Linked DNA regions of Homo sapiens: all the other regions are linked to region 4. The links are contacts of gene promoters, found by promoter capture Hi-C in blood cells and fetal thymus (Javierre and others, 2016). All regions are on one chromosome and are shown on one strand. Each heading gives the region's core, a stretch centred on a gene start or on the middle of the fragment in contact. The rest is flanking DNA. Distances are from core to core; before and after follow the strand shown. Region 1 overlaps LOC105377778 (a long non-coding RNA gene). Region 2 has its middle 240 kb from the start of MIR7160. Region 3 holds the start of DLGAP2-AS1 (DLGAP2 antisense RNA 1). Region 4 holds the start of MYOM2 (myomesin 2).

Evidence for each region. Contacts are between HindIII fragments. The CHiCAGO score rates a contact against its expected background, and 5 or more counts as called.
Region 1: a fragment that was not itself captured here is called in contact with the fragment with the promoter of MYOM2 in region 4 in 1 of 17 cell types (fetal thymus); the score reaches 5.1 in fetal thymus.
Region 2: a fragment that was not itself captured here is called in contact with the fragment with the promoter of MYOM2 in region 4 in 6 of 17 cell types (activated CD4 T cells, non-activated CD4 T cells, fetal thymus and 3 more); the score reaches 7.8 in activated CD4 T cells.
Region 3: a contact is called between the fragment with the promoter of DLGAP2-AS1 here and the fragment with the promoter of MYOM2 in region 4, in 4 of 17 cell types (M2 macrophages, naive B cells, total B cells and 1 more). The highest score is 8.1, in M2 macrophages.

The regions. Positions count from the first base shown.
Region 1 is chr8:1,742,491-1,746,045 of GRCh38, forward strand. It overlaps LOC105377778 (a long non-coding RNA gene), which reads right to left. Exons shown (of 4, transcript XR_007060784.1): 4 at 329-362. Among named protein-coding and RNA genes, the nearest start is that of CLN8, 20 kb to the right of the region's middle. The HindIII fragment of the contact is 3,245 bases long and covers 1-2,943 here.
Region 2 is chr8:2,313,196-2,316,963 of GRCh38, forward strand. No RefSeq gene overlaps it. Among named protein-coding and RNA genes, the nearest start is that of MIR7160, 240 kb to the left of the region's middle. The HindIII fragment of the contact is 1,882 bases long and covers 1,032-2,913 here.
Region 3 is chr8:1,619,635-1,623,258 of GRCh38, forward strand. It overlaps DLGAP2-AS1 (DLGAP2 antisense RNA 1), which reads right to left and starts at 2,030. Exons shown (of 4, transcript NR_103863.1): 1 at 2,009-2,030; 2 at 740-879; 3 at 65-259. The region is part of intron 6 of DLGAP2 (DLG associated protein 2); the gene reads left to right. The HindIII fragment of the contact is 8,845 bases long and covers 1-3,624 here.
Region 4 is chr8:2,043,710-2,047,340 of GRCh38, forward strand. MYOM2 (myomesin 2) reads left to right here and starts at 1,337. Exons shown (of 37, transcript NM_003970.4): 1 at 1,337-1,459. The HindIII fragment of the contact is 1,181 bases long and covers 1,231-2,411 here.

The DNA of each region.
Region 1 (3,555 bases), core at 71-2,570, 300 kb before region 4:
GCGGCTATGTAGTGATATCTCACTGTGGTTGTAAGCAGCAGCCACTGATGAATAACACAGGGGAGCATCCGTTGAGTAGCCATTTTGATCTTTTCTTTGGTACAGTGCTTGTTCAGGTCTTTTGCCCATTTCTCTATTTAAATCGCTTGTTTTTTCTAATTGATTTGTAGGAATTTCTTGCATGCTCTAAACTCAGGGGTCAAGGCTGTGGTCTGGTGTTGGTGTGGGTGTTGCACTCCTGCTGTCCCAGTCCCAGGTACTTGGGAGGCTGAGATAGGAGGATCGCTTGAGCCTGGGACGTCAGGGCTGCAGTGAGCCGAGGTTGCACCAGTGCACTCCAGCCTGGGTGACAGAGTGAGATCCTGTCTCAAAAATAATAAAATAAAATAAAATAAAATAAAATAAAATAAAAATAGTCAGGGATCAGCAAACTTTTCCAGTAATGAGCCAGAAAGTTAACCTTTTAGGCTTTGTGAGCCATGTGGTCTCTGTGGGACCTTTTCTCCTGCTGTCACGTAAAACAGCTGCAGACAATACTAAACCCATGAGCCTGGTGCTGTTCAGTTTATCTTATTTTGATGGACTTGAAAACGTGAACAGCATATCATTTTTACATGTCACAAAACATCATTCTCCTTCTACATTTTTGAACCATTAAAAAAAAATAAAATTCATGGTTAGCTTACAGAGAATACAAAATAAATGGATGGTGGACCTGATTTGGCCTGAGGGCCTTGTTTTGCCAGCCCTGCTCTAGATGAAGATCCTGGGTCAGTTACACACCTGGCAATAGCTTCCCTCAGGTTCCTAATGTTTTCCTTTGAGAAATGAAAGTGTTTTCCTTGGATGCAGCCCTGGTTCTCCTTCTTCCTTCGGGCAGGTGGCTGGTTTGGACTGGAAGGAAAGTGCATCTCCCCTGCTCTTTAGTGTCCTCTGGAGGGATAGGAGCACCCACAGATCTGCAATGATGGGTGCCAGCCGCCCCCGGCGGGGGAATGAGTGCTCACTATGAGGCAAGTGACCACCACGAGCAGGAAGGTCCCTCCCACTGAGGGACGGCTTGTGCAGTCCTGGCCTGGGGGCTGATCTCCACCATGGTTCCAATCTCCTCCTGCTATGCCTTTGCCATTTTCAGAGCTTATTCTCTTTCTCTGCTCTGAACAAATAGGCAGCCTAAAACTACAACCTTTAAAACTCTCCCATAAAGAAACCTGTGGCGTTGATGAATGTAGGGGGGGCTTCCCACTAGGAGGGGATGAGCGGGGCTTGATGTTTCCGCAGATGTCTGTGCCCGCACTGGCGACTCCGATACTCCAATGCAGGTTCATCAACTGTAACACACGGACCAGTCACGGCGTTGGCCGTTCTCTGGTTTGGGCACATGTAGAATGACACGTACCCACCATTACAGTGTCACTGCCTAAAATTCCTTCGTGCAGCATCCCTTTTCCGCTGGTAGGGGGGAAGCAACCTCTTTGAGCCTCACGGTGTGAATAAACACAGATGATCGTCCTGTAGAAAATAGCTGCTCCTTCATTTCCACCTTCCAAATTTCTGCAAATCTCTCTTTCCTCCAACAGGACGTTGGAACCATTCAGGGAAGGGAACTTTGAGAAACACAGATTAGCTAAGAGAACGCGGTACAGAGCCACTCAGAGAGAAGACAAATGCGTCATCACGACAAAGGCTCGACGCTGATAGGGTCAAGGCCCTTCTAGTGACAGAAGAGAGAGGGGAGAGCCAGCGGAAGGAGCCGCGTGCCTGGCGGGAGGCTCCTTGAGGACGAGAGAAGATGAAAACTCGGGAAGGCAGCTCCCTAGGCAGGTCTTCCGTGATATGCAGGAACTATCCCGGCTGGGAATGTGACGGTGAGACGTGACACCGCGAAGGATGGCAGCACGTGCACAAATAAGGGGTGAAGGTCAAGGGTGAGGTCTGGAAACGGGCTGGCGTGGCCGGGAGGGGGACTTCCTGGAGGAAGGTGCAGGGCAGGAAATGGGAGCAGGGCCCCTGGATGGGGCCGGATCCGAGGGGAGGGCAGGCACCTAAACACTTCGAGTACCCAATGGCGTGCCGCATGACACTTGCTATGACCTTGGCATCAACACGGGACCCGGCTCGTGATGGGCAAACTGCACGAGGATAAAAACGTTCCCCTGAGATGTTAGGAGAAAAAAAAAATTGGCCGGGCGTGGTGGCTCACACCTGTAATCCCAGCACTTTTGGAGGCCGAGGCTGGTGGATCACCTGAGGTCAGGAGTTTGAGACAGCCTGGCCAACATGAGGAAACCCCGTTTCTACTAAAAATACAAAAATCAGCCAGGCATGATGGCACACACCTGTAATCCCAGCTACTCGGGAGGCTGAGGTACAAGAATTGCTTCACCCCGGGAGGCAGAGGTTGCAGTGAGCCGAGATCACACCATTGCACTCCAGCCTGGGCGATGAGAGCAAAACTCCGTCTCAAAAAAAAAAAAAAAAAGAAAAAGCGGAAAAAAAGTCACAAGAACAGCTAAACAGCTCTATGTGGCCCTGAGCCTGGCACTCCGGTAGCACTTGGTGAACGCTGGATGAATGTAGCACTTGGTGAATGCTAGATGAATGGCTTAATGAGTCAGCAAAGGAAGCTCACCAGTTCTTCTTTTCCATGATGAAAAGGTAGTTTCCCCATATGACCATAGGCTCTCAATGGGCAGGGAGCGATGGAGACAGCTCAGCCTTTGATTCTAGTCCTTACATGGAAGACAGCGTATTGCAGAGACTCAGCCACAAAGAGAACTGAATACGGTGTCTGAAATTCTCCTTCTCCTGAATTGTCAATGTTGGTGTCTTTTCGCTTCTGAACAGCATTCCGTGAGAGAACCACGACCCTGGCCCAAACGTGTAGGCTGTGGCTGGCTGTTTTGTTTTGTCGTGGTTTGTCTGGATGCACAAAAATGCTTAAGCTTTAAGTCTCTGATAGTTTACATTTTGTGATGTAAGAACAAGAAAAAAAAACTTCCTCCAACCTAATGCTCTCTGCAAACCAGAAACAAAGTAAACAAGCAAAACCTGCTCTGCTCAGCTTCCGTAATTCCAAATGTTTTATAAGGGTGACTGCAGCATTGGCGGCTTGCTATCTCCAGACTGTGGGCTGTCCCTCACAGCCAGGCCATGACTCAGTCACCTCTTGCTCTCTCGGGGTGTCTGCCCAATGGATTTGTCACAGAATCAGAGGCCCAGTGAGTGACCAAGGCTTGCCTGAGCAGGATATGAAAGCCGCGCTGCTAGAATCTAAGCTGGACCGCAGCATAGGCCACGCGCTTTCCATCCTACCTGCCCTGTAACGTGACTGACGTTAGCTGCGGTGGGGCGAGGAGCGCCGTCTTGTGTCCTGAGTTTGATCACCTCGTCAGACCACAAGTTGGAGGTGTGGGTTTCTGAAGTGACAACATCCTCACTGAAATTCTGCCCATGCACTTTCTCTTCTCATTTTGTTTCCACCCACCGTGACCTTTTTCCTCTTTTTCCACCCCAAAGGAAGAGAAATGTCAAGAAAATAACACTACAGAGCAC
Region 2 (3,768 bases), core at 723-3,222, 270 kb after region 4:
TTTTTTCCCCCTTTTTCAGGGGTGTGGGTATAGCCTTACTTTGCAGCACCACACGTTATTTCCAGACTCAGGTCGTGGAGTCAGCCACTTCTCCAAGCAGACCTGATCCCTTTTATAAGAGAATGGCTTTTATAAATCATGAATTTTACATAGGTGTGCTCATTGCTACTGAGGTATCATCATTTCTAGGCTGCTCAGTGGACAGTTGTGGAAATAAAGGCATGTATATTATTAACCTGTACACATACACACACTTCCGTATTTATTTCTATGTGTATCTATGTCTGTATCTATATCCATGTATCAGAGAGTGAGTCAATACCGACACTTCCAATTTTAATCCGACACTAGAGGAATCATTCCAGCAAGCCCCCTTCCTTATTTGTAACTTCCTTTTCTGACAGTGAGAACTGGACTCTCATTATCCACAATATATTTACTTATTTGTTCTATTCCTGGCATAGACACAAAGCGGGTTCAGAATTGCTGATGTATCCTTCTCGGAGAAGCAAATCTACTGAGCAGAGCTCAGCCTTTGTGCAGAGTCCTCTCTTCATCAGCCTCTTCTTAGTCTGTTCAGGCGGCTCTGACAAAGTATTACACACGGGGTGACTTGTCGACAGCAGACATTTATTTTGTGGAGGTTGAGGTTGGAGCTCAGGGTGCCAGCATGGTTGGCTTTGGGTTGGTTCAGGCTCAGGGCTTAAAGACTCTTGTGCTTTTTGGGATTGTTGTAAGTTTTTCTGCTATCGGTTTACGTGTTTTTTGTGAAGTTTACTTCTTTGTATTTGATCTTTGTGCTATTTTTTTCTACCTTTGTGTTCTCTGGCTCATTATAGTTTGGTATACAAAGGCTTTTGACTTTTATATGTTAATTTTATGTGTATTCTCATGATTTGTGGGAAATATATTCTACAGACTCACTACAAACCCTGGATTAGCAAACACCAAACCATTGCTCCTGAGGGAAATACTAGGTTAGATTCCTCTGAGCTTTTATCTCAACGTATTCTTCTACTGATCAATACACAAGCTTGTTTAATGTGTTTCTGTTTTACTTCCTGTTTATTGGCAACCAGCACTCTATTTATTATAATTATTATTTTATTATTTTTACTGTAGTCAGAACAGATAACAGAAGATGTATCTTTTTAACAAATTTTTAAGTGTGCAGTACGGTATCATTAAGTGAAAGCCAAATATTGTGCAGAAGATGTCTAGAACTTTTTCATCTTGCGTAAGTGAGACTTTGAAGAGAACCTGGAGGACATGATGGTAAGTGAAACGGCCAGTCATAGAAGAAAAATACTGTGTGAGTTTTCCTAATTGAGATATCTGAACTACTCAGATTTGTGGATGCAGAGAATAGAATGGTGGCTTCCAAAGGCTGGAGGAGGAAATGGAAGTTGCTGTTGAATGTGTATTTCTGTTTAAAGACAACTGATTTAATATCTATTGTTGACTCCTTCTCTTTGAACTCATGGCCACCATCACTATAACTCCTGCCTGCTCGAGCAAAAGTCTTTTCCATAAAGCACGTAACAGCCTTCATGTACTTAGAAGCAGCCGTCAGCACTTCAGTATTGATTGGGGGCCACTTAAACAGTGAAATCACCAACATACACACTCACACATGCAAAAGCAGGGCACTACATCCACTGTGAAAAGGACACGCGTCTCACCGTGTGGAGCCTTGTTCAACCTCAGCTGGGCGGCTTGAGGCTTTCTGCCCTGTTCACCTGTGTGAGTGACCACCAGAGAGCCGTGGTGTACAATGTTATTATTTTATATGTATATAGATTGTATAGTGATTACCACAAACAAGTTAATGGGGCAGCGGTTGCAGAAAACAGTCTGGTGGTTCCTCAAAAAAACTGAAGATAGAACTACCATATAACCTGCCAGTCTCACTTCTGAGTATGTACCTAAAAGAATTCAATCAGTGTCTTAAAGAGATATTTTATATCCACGTTCATAGCAACACCATTCGTAACAGCCAGAGGGTGGAAGCAACCCAGGTGTCCATCAATGGATGAATAGATCCACATACTGTGGCATCTATGTGCAACAGAACAGGATTCAGCCTTAAAAAGGCATCTATGTGGCTGGGCGTGGTGGCTCATGCCTGTAATCCCAGGACTTTGGGAGGCTGAGGCGGATGGATCACCTGAGGTCAGGGGCTTGAGACAAGCCTGGCCAACATGGTAATACCCCGTCTCTACTAAAAATACAAAAATTAGCTGGACATGGTGGTAGGTGTCTGTAATCCCAGCTACTTGGGAGGCTGAGGCGGGAGAATTGCTTGAACCTGGGAGGTGGAGGTTGCAGTGAGCCGAGGTAGCACCACTGCACTCCAGCCTGGGCTACAGAGTGAGACTCCGTCTCAAAATAAATAAACAAATAAATGCAAGTTGCAATGGGAAGACCACCTACAGAGAAAAGAAGACATCACTATTTATTAAAGAAGACATAAAAATTATTAAAATTATATTTAGACTTTAGTTCAGAAAAATATAGATATTAATAAGCTATTTTGGCAGGCTTTCTATTAAAATCACTTTATATTAAAGTGATACTGCTCAGTTATGAAACAATGATTATTTTAAATAATATTTTGTTTATGTTTATATATTTCTTAAGGTATTTTTGAAATATTAAAATGACTTAAGGCAGATCATAAAAGTTACTTGGCGGAGGGATCTCAAGTGATTTGAACAAAATGACTTTAAGCAGTTCCTGTTGCAATATTTTATTTGATAATATTACTTAAATAATAATGATATAATACTTACACAAAAACATCCAGTCCTTTTTTTTACAAAAGTAATAAAATTGTTATACTTATGTCCTTTTACATCCAAATAATCTTCTACTATGTTTTTCTAGATGTATTCTGCTACACCAAAGTATAGAAGCTTTGCAAGACAAAATCTAGATGTATTCTGCTACACCAAAGTATAGAAGTTTTGAAAGACAAAAATTGCCATATGTAGTATGGAAGAATAGCAATACCGTTTTTAAAAAACGAGGTGCATTAAAGTAAATGTCATATTTGAATGCATTGATCCATAAATGTGGACAATTGAACAGCACACACATTTACTAACCGTGCCGTGTGCTGATGCTAATCTTCTTCGGGTGGCTCCTAGAGAATGAGGTTGGAGTGTGGGGGACTGGGGAGGTGTGGGGGACTGGGGAGGTGTGGAAGGCCTTCACTTTCTTGGTGTTTGCTTGGAGTGGTAGCAAAATGCTTGTCCTTTATTTATTAAAACATGGATAAAATCGCAAGAAAAAGAAAAGAGCTCTTTTGCTTGGTAGCATAATCTTCTAATTTTTTTCGTAATTTCTTCAATGCAAAAATTTGGAATATTTGGGGCAAAATCTTCTCTCTTCTAAGAATACACTTGGTTCTGCAAAACTGCTTCTTCTGTGTCCCAAGCTCTTGCAGACACCCGGGAACCTGGGGGATACCTTTCCTTAGGGGATAACTCTTCCTTAGGAGAGGAACCCAAGACGACTGTGCCTGTTGCCTTTTAACATCTTATATTTGATGCTGAACCCAGAATGAAACTTAGAGTGAGCTCTTTACCATAAAGTGATGGAGTAAGCTCTAAACGAGGTGTGGGCTTTTCTATTTATTGTGCTTGAAGTAAATATGGTCTTGGTAGGGCACAGCTGGGTCTTTGCTGGACTCACATCACAGTACTGGGAGTGATTACTGAGTGTTCATGGGTCCCACGCACTGTTTCCGTGCTTAACATCTGTTAA
Region 3 (3,624 bases), core at 780-3,279, 420 kb before region 4:
TATGTGTTAACATTAAGTAAGTGCTCACCATGTATTATACTTGTATTGCATGTAACATTCTTACCTTATATTCACAGAACTCCATAAGTTATGTCCTGTGACTACTGTCCTCATTGTACGTTGCATAGATTAAGAGATTTGTCCAAATGACACCGTTGGCGAGAGGTTGAGCCAGGATCTCAATGTGGGCTTTCAGGCATCAACACATGTGCTCCACTGTGCATACAAACTGCCTTCTGCGCACCATGTTACTTCCGACCTGTAAAGCACATTTCACGGCCAAGCACACTGTTGGCCTCAGCATAGCGTTTCCTGTAGACAGGAAAAATGATCCCAGGCCCGCCTCTTTGAGTGTCTTTCCCATGGTGTCTTATTTTCACCTTCTAAAAATAAATGTTCACGTTGCTTCATCCCCCCATCCAAGAAAACTCACAGCCTTTCTCAAATCGCCTGTCCTCTCTGCTGTTCCTGACAAGTTGTTCAAAAGTTCCACTCATACTTCCATTTTCTTACCTTAACGTCTGCGATCTCATTTCTGCACCCATATCCACTGAAACTGTCCTTTTTAAAAATGACCCCAGCTTGCTGCATCTGACGGTCTTTCCCCATCTCATTCCACTTGATTTCTCAGCATCTGCTCCGGGGCCGGGCTCCTCCTGTCCCTCGGGTGCCCAGGAGCGTCCCCCGCCCCACGCCCCTCTCACTTTCCTCCTGGATTCCCTTCGTGGCCCCGCCTCACCTGAGAGGCCTCCTCCACCTTTCTGCTGCGTGACACTCACAGCCCGACGTCTTCCACACTTTTACATCTGAAGCACTCAGAGGTTCACAGCCCTGCCCGTCACACTTGCTCTGTTCTTTCACAGACTTCTTGGAAGTGCCCTAGAATCAGCAGGTCCAAATCAAACTCAGGTCCAACCTCCAAAACCTGTTTTTCTTCCTATCATAGATCTTGCCTTTGTTGGGAGAAGTCTAGGCGCCTTGGAATCATCTCACCTCTAACACATTCCTCATTCCTGTGGGCTCTGTCCCTAAAATCCAAGCCCTTTGGTGTCTCATGAGAAACCAGCTCAAGTCTGCAGGAGCCTCTCGGGGTCTGTGTCCAGGACACCACTTCCTGCATTCAGGCACCTCGTCCTCCAGGCCCCACGCACAGGGACCGTCCTGAGCTCCCAGCTCACAAGTCCCTGATTAAGAACTTGCAGTACTTTTCTTTTGCCTGTGGCATAAACATCAAGCTGTCTGGGGTGTCCCTCACAGTTTCCCACTCTGCTTCCCCAAACTTCTCTCCCAGAATGCCTTTCCCCCTTTACCCTCTGCTCTCCAGACAAACAATGCTCACTCCCCGCCTCCCAGCTGGCACACACTCTACATTTCCTTTTAGCATTTTGCATTAAGAAATCTATGTTCCAGTCTTTGTCCCCAACACACTGTCAACTACACGAGTGCTACGCTTGCCATCTTGCAGAAGGCCTTTCTTGCACTTCCAAGCACCCAGACTTACGTGGGAGGTGCCTTATTAAGATGCCTTCTCCTCGTGTTCTGTTTGGGAAGCCTTTGGTGGCACATCCTTCAAACCTGCCCAGTCCTGGTTATAGCAAAGGACGGGTAGAGCCAAGTGGACGAGAGCCGGAGGTGGTTGGTCCGGCTGGGTCAGGGTCAGCTGCACTGGGACCAGGGCAGAGGAGAGCCAGAGGAGGTTGTCCACACTGGGTTGGGGTCAGCTACACGAGGACCAGGGCAAAGGAGGTTGTCATGGCTGGGTCACTGTTAGCTGCACTGGGACCAGGGCAGAGGAGAGCCAGAAGAGGTTGTCCACACCGGGTTGGGGTCAGCCCCGTTGGGACCCAAGCCAGCGTCATGCATCTGAGCATGCTGGCTCTCACTCTCAGCTGGCCGTGGGTCAGCCATTGCAGCCCCACCTGCCACGGGCTCCAGGAAGAGCAGTCATCAGTATGGAGAAGGCCGGACTCTGCTCAGAAGCCACTGAGCAGGTGCTCCATAGACTCACCAGCTGGAGCGGGGTCACATCTCGGAGGCACCGTCAGCACCAGGAGGGCAGCCAAGCAAGGGTATGGCATTTCCGAGCCTCTGCGGTCAAGGGTATCGCATTTCCGAGCCTCTGCGGTCAAGGGTATGGCGTTTCCGAGCCTCTGCGGTCAAGGGTATGGCGTTTCCGAGCCTCTGCAGTCAAGAGCCCAGAGATGGGTTGTCGGGGCAGCTGTGGGGGCATCCCAGATGTGGGTGCCAACAGTGAGATGCAAATGTGGATTTCCCTCAAAAATGTGCTGTTAGGGAACAAGCATGCCTTCATCTCCTGCAAGGGCACAGAAAGCTCAAGAACACTTTTTACCCTGAATGTGGAAATGATCTGGAAAGAAGCCATTTTCTGAAATCCAGTCATTAATTGTGATATTATTTGAAATGTATACTGAAAGGTGTTCTAAGAATTTCCATTTTGCAGGTGGAATAATACACACATGTGCACGCACAGCACACGCACGCGTGTGCACACGAATGTCTGTTTCACTAGCACTGTTTAGCGTGCTCCATTTTCCATTGAATGCAGTGGAAGAAACACTTCTTATATTTGGGAGCTTCTCCTGTCAGATCCCATTTATAGAAATGAGAAGATGATCTCTGTATTTCAAATGAACACATTTAGTATGGAAAAAAATTTTCTTAAATATCTCCTTAGCACAACCTGCATAGAATCCTTACTGCTTTCCAAGGTAACAAGGGAGATGGTTTACGTTGTGTATTTTCAAGCATGTTTAGATGGATCTAAACAGCTGGGGTCAGAGGCCCTTTCAGGGGTACCCTTTGTTATGTATATTCGTTCTCATAATGACCTAAGTCACAGAGGAGGTTCTGAGCCCAGGATTCAGCAAGCAGCTCTGGAACCATTCGCAAAGGGCGAGAACAAGGTTGAACACCAGGAATCCTGCAGTTCTGTCTTGGGGTTATGGATTCACTTGCACAGCTTTCCGTCTCGCCTGTTTGTGGATGACAATCTAAGGGGAGCAACATCTGAAAGGCAAAACTAGAACAAAAACATTTCTGTGTTATTCTAGAAAACTTTTCACTATTTAAAAAAAAATTCTGAGCTACTAAGTCCATATAGCAAAATATGTTTCCATTTCTGACACCTGGGATGCCGCAGGAATTACCACTTAGAGAGATAACCAAAGGGGCTGAAAGTCAACTTCAAAATGCCCCGGGATGTAGGAGGGGGATTTTCAGGGGGAAGAGTCAGGTGGATTTTGTGGAGTGAGCCGTGCTGGGGACTTCACCCTGTGTCACCTGGCGGGGCCACCGGAGGGTGCATCCCCCCATCTTGATTGGCTCCCCCTAGTCCTAGTTCTTGAGTTTTGATCTGTGACTGTGAGGAACCTGGCCTTCTGGGACTCTATATGATAAAATGCTAAGCCATTATAATATTTTTTAAAAAGCCTCTTAAGCCAAATGAGGCTGAGGTTTTATTTGTTATTTTTTAACTATTTAAAAAGTCTGTGGTATCAGAGGATGGGATCTTTGGCTCTGTGGTCCTATGACTCAGCATCTTGAGTGCTTAAAATCCCAGTGACCTTGGGATTTTAAAGCATGAATTCCAGAGCCAGGCCACCT
Region 4 (3,631 bases), core at 87-2,586:
AGAACCAGAAGGCTCTCCCCAGGCAGTGTCTGCTGGTACCTGGATCTTGGACTTCCAGTCCCCAGAACTGTGGGAAAGAAGCTCCTGTGTTTTATAAGCTACACGGTCTATGGTGTTTTGCTAAAGCAGCCTGAATAGACTAAGAAATCACTCAACAAACACTAATTAAATTAAATGCTAGGCCATCAGAATACGAAGGGGAAGAAGACAGAAACACTCGCCTCCTGATCCAGCATCCAGAACGCTCTGGGGCCCAGCAAGAGGCTGTGCTCGCGTCTTTCTCGTATCTGATCTTCGCCTCCATCCACCTGCTCGCTGGTCCTTGGCTGTGCCTCTGATACCCCAGTGTGAGAACGTGGAGTTTCTTAAGGCAATTCTCTTATCATATTTTCTCTACTTGTCACAACAAACTTACAGGAAAGTTGTTATTCCATGCGTTTTAGAGCTGGGGAGCATAGCCCCCGTGGGCTGAGCAGCTGGCCGAAGTCCTCAGCCCCTGTGGTGAGGTGCAGCTGGAGTGTGATTCTCCGGGTCCTCAGATGGGGGCATCCCCTTGAGGCCCCGCCTCTTGGCCAGGCTGCAGCCCAGGACCGTGCCAGGTGTGTGTTATCTATATTTGGACACACGCTGTGCGAAACGACGGGCACCCTGCAATTATCCGTGTGGTGTAGACGCAGTGTACGTCTGTGGTAATGGCTATAAATAAGCCCCGACTTGCCGACTAGGCACCGCTCCTCTTTTGGGTAGGCAGTTCTTGCTAAAATAGCCCTAAGATACAATCGAGTGAAGACCTGAGTCGTTCTTGAAATAAAAAAAAAAAAACGAACAAACACACGAACATGCACACACACGCTCACAAACCCAGGGGCTTGTGCACCTCCCTCCCTCCACAGCCGACCTCAACTCGGGTGTCCAGGCCTGCGAATGGCACAAATGCTCACTGAAATCCATGTCATTATTAAAGACTCATTCAGGAGTTGCAATTTGTGAGCCAGGGAACCTGTAGCTCGAAAGGATTGAAGATATGTCTGAGAATTCACACGTAAGGATTAGAACTCATGGAGGAGAGTTGCGGGGAGGGAGCGTGGGAAGTCAGTGCCCTGCCCTCTCTTTCTGGGTCGGGGGCTGAAGTGTCACACCCGGTTTCCTGGGAAAAGTGCAGTTTGGGACTCAGAAAGGACACGTTCCAGTTTTGAATCGTGATTTCCCCCGCCCTCAGTTTGAACAAGAAGCTTTTCCTCCTGAGGTCAGGCTGGTGATTTACGATGTGGGTATTGATGTGGGGAGAGGCAGGCCCAGGCGTCTATATATAGTAGCTCCTCAGACCTTAAACGGGAGGGAGGCACAGGCGCTTGCTTTGCAGGAGTCAGCTCTGCCTTCCTCGGCTGGAGTGTGGGTGGCTTGGTGAGCCGGTGGTCAGGAATTCTCTCTCCTCCTTGCAATTTTCCTTTCTGTCTGGGTAAGTGTCTTTCTCTTCTTGCCTTTTCTAATTTGTGGCTTTAAGGGGAGGACCGGTAACTTCTGCACTCACATTTTCTAAGTACCTCTACTTCAGGGTCAAGAAGAGAGAGCCAGTGCACCCCGTCGCAGGCACCCTTTACTGTGGAAAACAGAGCAATTAGTTCTGGGATCTGTATTTCTTTGACGAGGTTTTATGCTCAACTAACATTTTATTTCCCACAGCCGTGGTCTTTGCTAAGTGCCGTTTAGCACCCTGCGGCGTGTGCTTTGGGTTTTAGCCCTGGTCTCATCGTGGCCCCAGGGGGCCCCCCAGTCAGTGGACTGATGTCTGCAAGTTTCATGAGATTCTCAGAAACGAAAGCCTCCCCCGAGGAGAGGGCTGACTTATAAAGGTGTGAAATAATAAAACTGGATATTTTCTTAAGGGAAAAAAGAGTCGAGGGTCATTCAGCTTAGACCTAGCCTATATTATCCACGGTATGGGAAAGAGAACAATCCTTGTCAGGACTTGCAAGTTTTTGCCCAAAAATGACAGCGTTCTTACGGCTGTTTTCTTCTTTGTGCTGTTGGGTGTGTTGTGACCCTTCAGACTTCTTCAGCTCCACTCCGCTGATAGAGGCTGTGCCTTCTCAGGGCGTGCTCTTGAAATGCAACCTGCTGGAGAAAGACAGTGGGGCTGGGTGGTTGCACGTGGAAGGCACCGGAGGCAAACGGAAGGAAGGGGTTTGCCATCACTGGGAACACCTGGCCTTTTCTAATTCTCCATTTCACATTCCTTTCTTACTAAGTAGAAGTAAAACAGGACTCAAAGAAAGCGTGGAACAAAGATAATTTAAGGCGTTATTTAATAAACCAAGTCCCAAGCTAAAACTTGTCTTGGGAGCCAAGGGCTTAGCCACTTGTGGCACAGGCCAACGCTGCGTGTCTGGGAGTCCCTTTCCCCTCTAGAAAGCTTTAATTTGGTGTATTTATTGACTTTGACATTTTTAACTGTACAAACAATTTCCTTCATTAAGTGGAAGTCAATGTTTTGTACTTCAAACATTTTTGCAAATTAAAACCCATCCTGGTGACATGAGGAATGGGCTCCACACGTTGTTTGCAGGAAGGAATTAGGATGGGGATATCAGACACGTGGTCCCCTGCACTGGAGGAGAGGCTCGCGTTTCATCCTGGTGTCATGATTCCTAAACGTGTCAGGAGCATTCCGGGAGTGGCCGGGGAGCTGGGCTGTGGTGGAAAGTGGGCTGGACGCTGTCAGGAGAGTCAGCTGGCGCCTGGGTTCGGCCGTGGCCCTACCGGTGACCCGGGCAAGTCATATTTCCCTGGGGACGGTCTGTGCTAACAGTACAGCGTGGCGCCAGGATTATCTACACACAGGCTGTCCAAGCTGGGGGACTGTTAGCTGCCACCTCACTCAGCCCCCTGTTTTACAGCAGAGCAGGTGGAGGCCCCTGAGCTGAAGGTCAGCAGGTCCCCACTGGAGTCTCAGCCTCCCAATGCGCCTGAGCCCCAGGGACTCACATCAAAAACTACCCTGCGAGGAAAAGCTGCTTTCTTTCTCTCTCTCTTTCTTTTTTCTTTTTTTTTTTTTTGGTTGGTGTGTGTAGGGGGTATTTAACACATGTCTGAGATAGTTCCTTAAAAAGGAAAACAGCTTTCTATGTAGACAGTAGAGGGACATTGGGGAGCTGATCGGCCCAGGTCCTGTCATTTTCTTTATAGTGTCATAAATAGTACAGGTTGATCATTCCAAATCTGAAGATCAGAAATCCAGAATGCTCTAAATTCTGAAACTTTGTGAGCGCTGGTATGACTCTCAAAGGAAATGCTTACATGAGCATCTCAAGTATCCAATTTCTGGATTTGAGTTGCTCAACCAGTAAGTATAAATGCAAGTATTCCACAGTCTGAAAAACAAATCGGGAATTGGAAACTCTTCTGGTCCAAGCATTTTGGATAAGGGATGCTCCACCTGTAGGGTGCATTTGGCAAGTCCTCTCCAGGGTTCCCTCCACTCAGAAGGGCCCTGTGCTGCCAGGGCTGCAGGCACCCAGCACGTGCTGAGTCAGTGGGGATTTGCTTGCAAAGACGTCATCACACCCGGCCAGGAGGTGGTGGCCCAGGCTGGGTGAGGGACACTGGGGAAGTTCTAACATAGGAAGTCCCC